Regions from separate parts of the Homo sapiens genome. Here region 2 is linked to region 1. The links are contacts of gene promoters, found by promoter capture Hi-C in human tissues and cell types (Jung and others, 2019). All regions are on one chromosome and are shown on one strand. The core of a region is centred on a gene start or on the middle of the fragment in contact, and the rest is flanking DNA. Distances in the headings are between cores, read along the strand shown.

The links. Contacts are between HindIII fragments. The study calls those that stand out against the background at their distance.
Region 2: a contact is called between a fragment that was not itself captured here and the fragment with the promoter of NKX2-6 in region 1, in 1 of the 25 tissues and cell types used here (H1 embryonic stem cells).

What each region holds. Positions count from the first base shown.
Region 1 is chr8:23,704,199-23,709,458 of GRCh38, reverse strand. NKX2-6 (NK2 homeobox 6) reads left to right here and starts at 2,703. Exons shown (of 2, transcript NM_001136271.3): 1 at 2,703-3,134. The coding sequence starts at 2,861. All of the region lies in intron 3 of LOC107986930 (a long non-coding RNA gene), which reads right to left. RefSeq lists enhancers at 1-42, 4,084-4,983. The HindIII fragment of the contact is 29,317 bases long and covers 1-5,260 here.
Region 2 is chr8:23,485,976-23,491,097 of GRCh38, reverse strand. The region is part of intron 3 of ENTPD4-DT (ENTPD4 divergent transcript); the gene reads right to left. Among named protein-coding and RNA genes, the nearest start is that of ENTPD4-DT, 31 kb to the right of the region's middle. The HindIII fragment of the contact is 6,430 bases long and covers 1-5,122 here.

The sequences.
Region 1 (5,260 bases), core at 1,454-3,953:
TCTGGCGTTAGGTTTCTACCCCGGGTGGCCCTACTTCCCCCCTCCAGCACTTGGAAGGCGAGAACCCAGCGAGTCGTCAGTATCCCCTGGAAGGACGAGGCGGAACTCCTACCGCGGAAATATTCTAAGTTCAGGGTCTCTTGTGGGTGCCCGGTGATGATTGTAAACACCCGTAGACCAGGCACTCGCCTGCACCTCCGGGAACAAAATACGATAATACTGTTTTTCTAGGAAGCCCTGGAATGGCATGTCTTATGAGCATTAAAATATTTGACTGATTGATGTTTCTTCTACATATGTATCCTGAGAAAATAACAGAAAATATTGACAAGGATGAAAATTGAAGGCACAAAATAAAGTCTTATTTACAGTGATAAAAAAAGATATTATCTAAAAATACAAACACAGTCTACTACGGTCTATCAATAACATGAAATATTAGATTCCTATTTTAAATTATATTTGTTTAAAAAATTCTAAAGATGAACTGGGCATGCTTATGATGTAAATTTAAACATATACAAACATATATACCCTATGAGCTCATATATACAGAAATAAAGACAAGAAGGTCCACTAAAATGTTGTCTCTGGGTGGATATTTTCTTTTAACTTTTCTTCACTTTTTCCAAGGTGCGCATGATGACTTTTATCAGGAAACAAAAATTCAAATAAATGTATGGGTCATCAGAAGATTTTGAGATCTCTAAGAGCAAAGGATGTATATTTCAAAAAGAAAGAAAGACAGGGTAAATTGTCTTGGTTTAGAGGCTAGTCTGGTCTTGCCATTTGGTGAACTATCTGGGCCACCTCTCTGATCTGGACTCCTCGCTGAACAAAAGAAGAAGAAGGAGAAGGAGAAGGAGGAGGAGGAGGAGGAGGGGAAGAAGAAGAAGAAGAAGAAGAAGAAGAAGAAGAAGAAGAAGAAGAAGAAGAAGAAGAAGAAGAAGAAGAAGAGGAGGAGGAAGAAGAAGAAGGAGCAGCAGCTGGAAATATTTGGGTATAGCTTTGATGTGAAGATTAAATGTTACCATGTATAGGAAATCATTACTTTGTAGCTGAATGATCAAATGTGCTGAAATTTTGCATAAATATTTGTGTGCAATTTTGCACCCATTAGCCTGGGGAGATGAGTTGGGTTTATCTGAATTTCAGGAGATAATCATATTCAAACAGCTGTTGTAACATTGAATTCACGTAAGTAGGTTTAAGAAGCATTTGAAGCCTGCGCGGTGGCTCACACCTGTAATCCCAGCACTTTGGGAGGCCGAGGTGGGCACATTACTTGAGCCCAGGAGTTCAAGACCAGCCTAAGCAACATGGCGAAACCCCGGCTCTACAAGCAATAAATAAATAAATAAATAGCCAGGCTTAGTGGCTGCATCTGTGGTCCCAGCTACTCAGGAGGCTGAGGTGGGAGGATCACTGAGTCCGGGTCGAGGCTGCAGCGAGCCATGATCCGGCCACTGCATTCCAGCCTGGGAGACAGAGAGAGACCCTGTAACCAAAAAAAAAAAAAAAAAGGAAGAAAGAGAAAGAAAGAAAAGAAAGAAAGAAAAAGGAGGGAGGGAGGGAGGGAAAGGAAGGAAAGAAAAACAAAAAGAAACATTTGATCTGAAATCCCCAAAAGAACTCTAATGAGATCCCATTGTGATTAAAACACAATTTTTAAACCCTCTTCGATTCAGTGCTGGAACAGCTGACACCAAATCACGTTTCCCTGATCCAGGAGTAGTAACAGCAGGGGCTGGATCTGTTGGCGCTATCTCCGTGTTGGTAACCTTTGTGCCACACTGCGCCATTTACTCGGTGCCCGCCGTAACCAAGGGCCTTTTCTGGAGATCTAATGCGAGTCAAATCTTCCCAGCCCTTCGGCGGGCGCCGCATTTATACGCGCACACAAGCTGGCACGCTCCAGGCAATCCGCTTTAAGGAGGATAAAGGAGAGGAAGAAAAAGAACGTGGGGACGCCAAGGGCGACGGAAGCCCACCCCCCCCCACCCCCACTCCCGCCTCTGACCACTTTGCGCGGGCCGCAGAGATTGCCTTCCAGTCTCCCCCACCATTCGCGGAGCCCTTTAAGAGGTCGAGGGCTCCCCACATGTAGCCCCCACACCCATTCCTCGGTCCTGGGGCTGAGAAGCTGCTCCTAGGAAGTGGCGGGTCGGGACTCCGCAGACCTGGATTCTGTTCAAAGAGAGAGGTTTCCATCTCAATATAGGCCCTGGTGGGTCAAGACTCACTTCTACTCTGCGGTCCGGCCTCTGCGCACGTAAGATCCCAGCGCGCGCCTCAAATTCCGCGGGTCCCAGCTGTCTCTATCTTAGCTTTCCTCCGCCATAAGAATGCAGAGTTGAGCTAAGACCAGGCTGGATGGACCGGATCGGGTTGCACAGCAAGGACTCCACCTCCAATCCCCGCATGTCCACTAGGAGGGTCCCCGTGGACCCTAGGTTGACCTCGGAAGCTCCCGCTAGTACCGTATTGACGGAGATCCAAGCCGCGCGCAGCACTGTCTCTCCACGTTTTCTTTGCTTTGAGAACCGTCAATACGAACCAAACCTCCCAGGAAGGCGACTGGGGACTGGAGAGGATTCGACGGGCGCGGGAAGAAAGCGCTGGGGGAGGAAGGTGCAGAGCTAGCACGTGGTTTCTGCGAGAACCAATGGGGGGCTACGGTCTCGTCACCCGGCCCTGGACCCGGGCCTACCAGCATGGCCCAGAGGAAGGCGCTGTCTGGGACGCTGGGCGTCTGTCCCAGAGCTTGGGTCTGTCTGCGGGGCCTGCAGCGACAAGACGGGAAGTTCAGGGTGCCGCTCCTCACCCGGACCTCCTCGGCCCCGCCCCATCCGCCTTCGGGATGCTGCTGAGCCCCGTCACCTCCACCCCCTTCTCGGTCAAGGACATCCTGCGACTGGAGCGCGAGCGGAGCTGCCCCGCGGCTTCGCCACATCCGCGGGTGCGGAAGAGCCCGGAAAACTTTCAGTACCTGAGAATGGACGCAGAGCCGCGAGGGTCAGAGGTTCACAACGCTGGTGGCGGCGGCGGTGACAGAAAGCTGGATGGTTCGGAGCCTCCTGGGGGTCCCTGTGAGGCAGTCTTGGAGATGGACGCGGAACGGATGGGGGAGCCACGTGAGTAAGCGCTCAGGTCTTGCCTCCTACGGGGGGAATGTGGGGGCGGGGGCGTGATCCATGGGTGCATGGGGAAAATACGCCTCCTATCTCCTGGGTTCGAGACTCTCTCCATTTTCTCTCGAGGAGTCCAAAAAAAGGCCTCTCGAATCCCATTCCCATCCTCTCCTGACACCCAGTGTGCTTCACACACCCCTAACGAAAGTAAGGCCCTGAATCTCAAGGATTCACTTTTCCCAAATCCGCTCCTCTGATTCCCACAAACGCATCGCTCACACTCGCAGCCACAGTGCCCAGAACCTCCACCTTCTCATCTCCACAGCGAAACCCTCCGCAGTGTCTTAGCCGTGCCAGTCACCACCGCCCTTCCCTACCATCACCTGGTGTCTCTCCACCCCCAAACCGTTTGCAAAAGCGTGTGGCCATCAAAGCAGTGGAACCCTCGTGGCGCTGAGGTCACTCCTAACTGGGCCCTTTCTTGCTGGTCTGGTCGGGGGACCCCCCCATTCCTCCTCATGGATTTTTCTTCTGGAAGACGAAAGTTGGGGACCGGGTGGCGATTGAGTCTCCCGAAGTGGAAGGCCCCGTTGGCGCAGGATTCTCCGCGTCAGGGAGAACGTTAAAGGTTGCCAGGGTTTTCTCTGCCCTGGGACACGGTTCTGGCCGAGTCCTGTCGCAGGTATCCAAAGGCGCAACCGTGCGCGCCGGGCTGCGAGGCCCACGCACCTGTGTCCAGCCCGCTGGAAGGGAAGGGGCTGGCGGGGAGTTGTGTTGCGTCGATCCGGGAGTTGTGTTGTGTCGATCCGGAGGCTTCAGCTGGAGAGGCCCGATATTCCAAGGGATGAAAACGCCACCTTTTTCTCTCCAAACCTCAGCACCTCACTCGGCATTCTCAACGCAGGGGCCCTGAGTAGCGCCCGCCAGGGCAGGCCTCCTCTGCCAGACTGTGCCATGGCGCCTCCATTCAAGGCGCGAACGAAAGAAATAAACCAAGGGGCTAGATCGGAGTTATTTACCGGCCTGCAGGCCGGCTACTCACTAACTCCAGAAGCCTAAGAACATTACCTGCTGTGTCCGCGAAGAAGCTGGTAGGTTTTCTGCAGCGGATTCTAAACTCCCTCGGCGCTGCTCAGCCAACTCGGCGATCACTTCGGCTCCGCTGAGCTGACAAAGGATCACGTTCCTTCGACCACCACAGTCGCCTCGCAGCCGATGGTATTTGCGGCGCCTTCCTTCTCCCACTGGAAACCAAATCCTGGGAGCGTCTCTTCTGCGGCAGCAGTGGACGCCGCCGAGGAGGGACCCGAGGCCGGACCCGAGGCCGGCTCCAGGAACTGAGCCCAAGGCCGCGGTAGCGATCCGGACAGGGAAGACACCTTCGGTGGGCTTCATGCCTTCCTCCATCGCAGCTAACCACCTTGCCCTCAAGAACTCCAGGATTGTGAACAGAAGGGCGCAGGGTGCTGGCCCACCCTGCGGTGCTGTGCAGCCCCAGGGCCTGCATGATCTGTGACTTTGAAATGGGGTCCTCCTTGCTCTGCAGCCTGGCTGAAGGTCAGTTGTTACCTTTCGATGCGCTAAGAAAACAAACCCTCCTCAGAATTTTTCCTCTTTGCAAGTGGAGATGGCCTCAGTTTATCTGAGCACAGACGTCTCTGAAGGAAGTTGTTCTGTCCTCAAACTTTACATACCAAACAGCTCCATCCCCCTCCAGGAGATTGTGCCAGTGCCTTGGGTATTAGGAGTCTGGTTCCAATCGCACTGGCTCATTTAGAGTCCTGTCCCGTCTTGCCATGAACTTGCACCCCTTCCATGCTCCTGATTTTCTCCTGGCGTGAGATCCCATGAAAACTCAGCATTTCCCTTCTATCCACCCTTGGGGTAAAACGGGGTTTAAGCCCAGACAGGAGAGAAGTGAGAAGGGAGGAAAACGCTGCATCTTGGTGGGCACAGTCTCAGCTGTAGGGGTCGCCCTGGGTGAAAGGAAGACTTCAGGGTGAAGCCCACACCACCTGCTTGCCAGAAAGACCCCAAAGGAGGGAGAGGCTACTTTTTAAGAAGCCAAATGTGGACCTCAACTTTATGTATCTCTCAAAGAGAACCTCAGTTTCTGAGCCAAAAGTCAG
Region 2 (5,122 bases), core at 918-3,417, 220 kb after region 1:
GAGACTCTGTCTTAACAACAACAACAAAAAAATTAGGCTTGCAAAGCCTGACCTAGTATAGCTTTGGCTTTAATGAGTAACAAGATACATTTTAATTCAAATACCCAAGCGCCAGCCTAAGAACAATCATGGCTTCTGCTTATAGTGAATTACTGGACGTTATTTACATACAAAAGGATACATTTAAGCGCTTTAAATAGTTTAATACCCTTGGCAGGTAACTAGTACTTATATTGGTTTCTTATGGCTACCCTAACAAATTAGCACAAATTGGGGGCTTAAAATAACAAACTGATTCTCTTACTGGAGTTCTGGAGGCAGGAAGTCTGAAATCAGTTTCACTGAGCAGAAATCAACCACCCAGATGATTGCTTCCTGGGACTCCAGGGGAGAGTGTTTCCTTTTTCTCCTAGTTCCCGGAGCCACCTGGACTCCAGCCATGACTGCCATCACTGCAACCTCTTGCTTTCATTCTCACACCTCTTACTTCCTCCTTCACCTTCTTGCCTCCCTCTTAAAAAGACCCTTGTGATTACCTTTAGAATCTACCCAAATAATCCAGGATAGTCCCCCATCTCAAGATTTTTAATTTAGTCACCCTTGCAAGTCCTTATTGCCATATAAAGTAACAGACACAGGTTCCAGGGATTAGCATGAGACCGTCTTTGGAGGGAGGCATTATTCAGCCTGCCCCAGTGCTCATCTGATCTTATTTGCAGTGAGCACTGACAAAGGCCTTCTTTTAGAGATAGCACAAAGATAAACTTCAGAATGGGGAGCCCTGATCGTGAAAAAGGTGCTGGATGAACGGTGAGGAAGCCGGAGTTCGAGTCCTGCTCTTCCACGGCTGCAGGGTGTAGTGGTTAAGAATACATGGACCCGTTTTGAAATCCCAGATCTGACTTATTAACTGAGTGACCTTGGGCAAGTTGCTTTACTCATCTGCGGAGTAATGAAACCTCCCGGGCGGGGCTGTCCCTGAGATTATAAATGGATTACTCTATGCAAAATACCTGGCACAGTAAGTGTTTTAAGAAATGACTGCCCTTCCCACCCCCAATCTCAGGTATGAAGTCATGCTTGTCAGCTTTTTTTTAACTTTATAAAAGCTGACAGCATCTCACACATATAAATTTATGCTGTTATAAGAGACAAGGTGCATGTAGCCCACCCTCCTATTGTTTCCGTCCTAAGCTGGGAGGAGAACAGGGTTTTGGGTATAGAAAGCCCTGGGTCTACCAGATCTTTAGCAGGAGTGGAAAGTGAAAGTTCATATAGAGAATGACTTTGGGTATAAAGCGATGAAAGAGGGAAAAGAAGATGAAAGAAAAGAGATAATATGGGATCATGGGACTTAGGAAGACAGGAAGGGTCATTTGAGTTCACCTCTGTCACCTGCGTATCATACTGTGTCCGGAATTGGTTCCTGCCAGTGGGTTCGTGGTCTCACTGACTTCAAGAATGGAGCCGTGGACCTTCACGGTGAGTGTTACAGCTCTTAATGATGTCACAGACCCAAAGAGTGAGCAGTAGCAAGGTTTATTGTGAAGAGTGAAAGAATAAAGCTTCCACAGCGTGGAAGGGGACACGAGTGGGTTGCCACTGCTGGCTGGGGGGGTGGCCAACTTTTATTCTCTTATTTGTCCCCTCCCATGGTCCGTTTCTGTCCTATCAGAATGCCCTTTTCTCAATCCTCCCCGAGAGTGGCTACTTTTAGAATCCTTCTGATTGGTACATTTTACAATCCTTTTGCTAGCTACAGAGCACTGATTGGTGCGTTTTACAGAGTGCTGATTGGTGCATTTTACAATCCTCTTGCTGGCTACAGAGCACTGATTGGTGCATTTTACAATCCTCTTGTAAGGCAGAAAAGTTCTCCAAGTCCCCACTCGACCCAGGAAATCCAGCTGGCTTCACTTCTCAATACCGTACTATATGGATGTCTGTTCCTCAAGTGATAGAGAATGTCTTCACCCATAGAATTTAGGTAAAGATTTTTATCATGAACAGACCTTTTTTGGTGGAAAAAAAAATCATGAATTTCAATGTCCCTATCTGTGAAATGGACATTATGAAGTATATCCCATCTTGCTCCAATTACATACAAGTTGAGGTAATGTTTGTGAAGTGTTGTGGAAGTGGTTTTTATGCTGTGCACATTTAAGCTGGCACCATAACCAATTATTGTTATGAAACATGGCAAGGAGGGGCAGTGACATTCATCCAACTTCAAAACACACTCATCCTGGATCAGCAGGCCTGTGTCAGCCTGGAAGAAACAGGCAATACAGCTAAGAACAGGACTTTGCAACAATAGAATGCAAAAAACCACTCTAGATCTCCCCTCTGTGTAGCCAATACAAATGCCTCCTTCTTTAGGACACACTGCGAGCTGTGTGTGCATCTGTATCCAGCTGCCTTGAAGGAAAAACAGCCTGACAGATGAAGCCCATCCTCCAACCCCCAACCTCTCAGTGTCTCGTTTCAGTCACTCTTCCAAACCTGAACACTGTTTCCTGTTTCTAAGGAAAATGACTTAGAAATGGCTCATGGGAGCCTGGTCGCTCCCAGGGTACCCCGCAGCACCCTGGCAGTGAAAGGATCAGAATCAACCAATTTGCTTCTCCTTGAGTGCCCAAGAACCAAGGGAAATCCACACCAGGATGACGCCCTCAGGGCTTTGTCAGGCACAAAAGCATTGAGAAGTCAGTGAGTCTCTTCCGCAACTCGCAGGGCTCCCAGGGCTTGCTCTTGGGTGTGGAGTCCTATTCTTAGCAACACAACGATTTTCTCCTATGGGCCAAATCTCGGTTTGGTTTTCTTTTCTGGCTTTGCTCCAGTTACTTTCTGGGACAGTCTTAATCCCGGGGCCTCAGTTTCTCCACTTTCCCGTTAAGAGGGTTATGCTCCCTTGATCACAGGCAAGTATGATTTGTATACGTACAATCTTCTAGAACAACCCCCTCATTTTGCAGACAGGGAAACTGAGATCCGGAGAAGGGCAGTGGCTTGGCATCGCTCACACAGGGGATGTGTGCGAAGCTAAGTCTCTGACTCCAGCTCTGTAGCCATCAAATGCAAATCAAATCATCTCAGCACTGTCTGGCTTCTTCCCTCACTGTTCTATGGGTGTTTTTCTTCTCTCCTCAGCCAGCTCCTCAGCTCCTCTTGGGCAGAGGCCATGGCTTGGCCTTCTTTCATGTCCCCTCAAGTGCCCAGGCCCATGGTGGGATTCCTTGGTCACTTGCTGATTGGGAGGGCTGACTGATGGAATGAAGAACTGGTGGATTTGAGTTGGGAAGATGCCAGAGTGATCCAGACCTTGAAGCAGGCCCACATGGGCAGGTGTGGGTGGGGGCTCTGGCCAGCCACTTACCAGCTGGGTGGCCTTGGACAAGTTTCTCAATTTCTCCAGGGCTCAATTTCCCCAGCTATAAAATGGGCATGACATACCCAATCCACGTGGTTTGACAATGTAATAAGATACTGCATGCCTGACGTGCCTCATCAGTATTAAATTATTTTTGTTGTAGTTATTTTTGTAATGGGGGGGTAGGCTTACTGGGCACCAAGATGGGGCAGGAAAAGAAACAATGAAAACATAATGGAAAGACATGGTAAAGCACAGGGACACCACGCTGGCCACCAACCCTGAGACTGGAGAGCACCGTGGGACTGCTATAGGTCCTGGTGGTTCTGAAGGAGAAGGTGAGGCAGACAGAGGAGGAAGAAAGCAATGTGGAAAGCCTTAAGCTCCTTAACCTGTAATTAGTCTGTGAACTCCACCCTGGCACCAAGGTGAAATGGGCGGGGCCACTATTCCCTTTTCCTCCCACACCCTCCTGCCACGCTGATTATCCCTTCAGGCAACTACAAGGCAATAGTGTTTGCCTTGACCTGGCTTTGCTGCATACCTCTAGATGTGACTTCCAGACCACAGACCCCTCCCAGCAATTGATGCTACCCTGGAAGCTGGCTCCTCCAGGATGCCCAGATCATAACTCGCTACCAGCTCACCAAGATTCAGCTGGGCCAAGGAGATAAGAAGGCCCATGCGAGCCACTGGTGTGGGGCAGGTCGCTCTGCTGGGTGGACTGGGTGGGCCACCAAGCTGAAGAGATGTTGACAAGCTATGGGGGCAGAATTCTCCTCTCACCCCTGGAAAAAAAATAATGGCAAAGGGATAAAATGGTTGCAAGGTACTTTTAAGAAATCTCCTCCCAGGGGTCAACAACCAAGGTGCTAATGCCTAGGTGAGCTCAGAAAACAGCTTCTGGCCGCGTGGCCCTGGCTGACAGGTGAGGTTTGGCAGGCGTTTCTTCCAACTCCTGAAGCAGGCCCCCTTCCAGGTGTTAATCCTGTGCCTTCTACCTGCACTCAGTGAAGCTCTGCTTATCCCTGATAATAAGCAGTGAGATAATGATCACAATGGAGGCATCTGACATTTTAATGGAGGCAGAATAAGAAGGAAACCAGTAGGAATGAGGAAATTGGCTTTGGGATCCACAAGGCTTGGTTTTGGGTTCCAGGGACCACTTTTCCCTGGACTTCGCACATGAGACTCTGCAGTAAGGGGGCAGATAATACAATTCATTTCAATAATTTAACACCAAAATGCTCTTCTCTAAGAAATGTGCAGGGCGGCTGGGCCCAGGGGCTCACGCCTGTAATCCCAGCACTTTGGGAGGCTGACGCAGGTGGATCACCTGAGGTCAGGAGTTCAAGACCATCCTGGCCAACATGGTAAAGCCCCGTCTCTATTAAAAAAAAAAAAATACAAAAATTAGCCAGGGGTAGTGGCGGATGCTTGTAATCCCAGCTACTCGGGAGGCTGAGGCAGGAGAATTGCTTGAACACAGGTGGTGAAGGTTGCAGTGAGCAGAGATCGCGCCAGTGCACTCCAGCCTGGGCAACAGAGCAAGACTCCGTCGAAAGAAAGCAAATAAAGAAAGAAAGGAAAGAAAGAAAGGAAAGGAAGGGAGGGAAGGGAGGGAAGGGAAGAAAGGGAAGGAAGGGAAAGAAGGGAGAAAGGGAGAAAGAGAGTCAGGGAGGGAGGGAAGGAGGGAGGAAGGAAGGAAGGTGGGTCCAGGGCATGTTCTAGGCCTTACTTCTTCCATTCTCA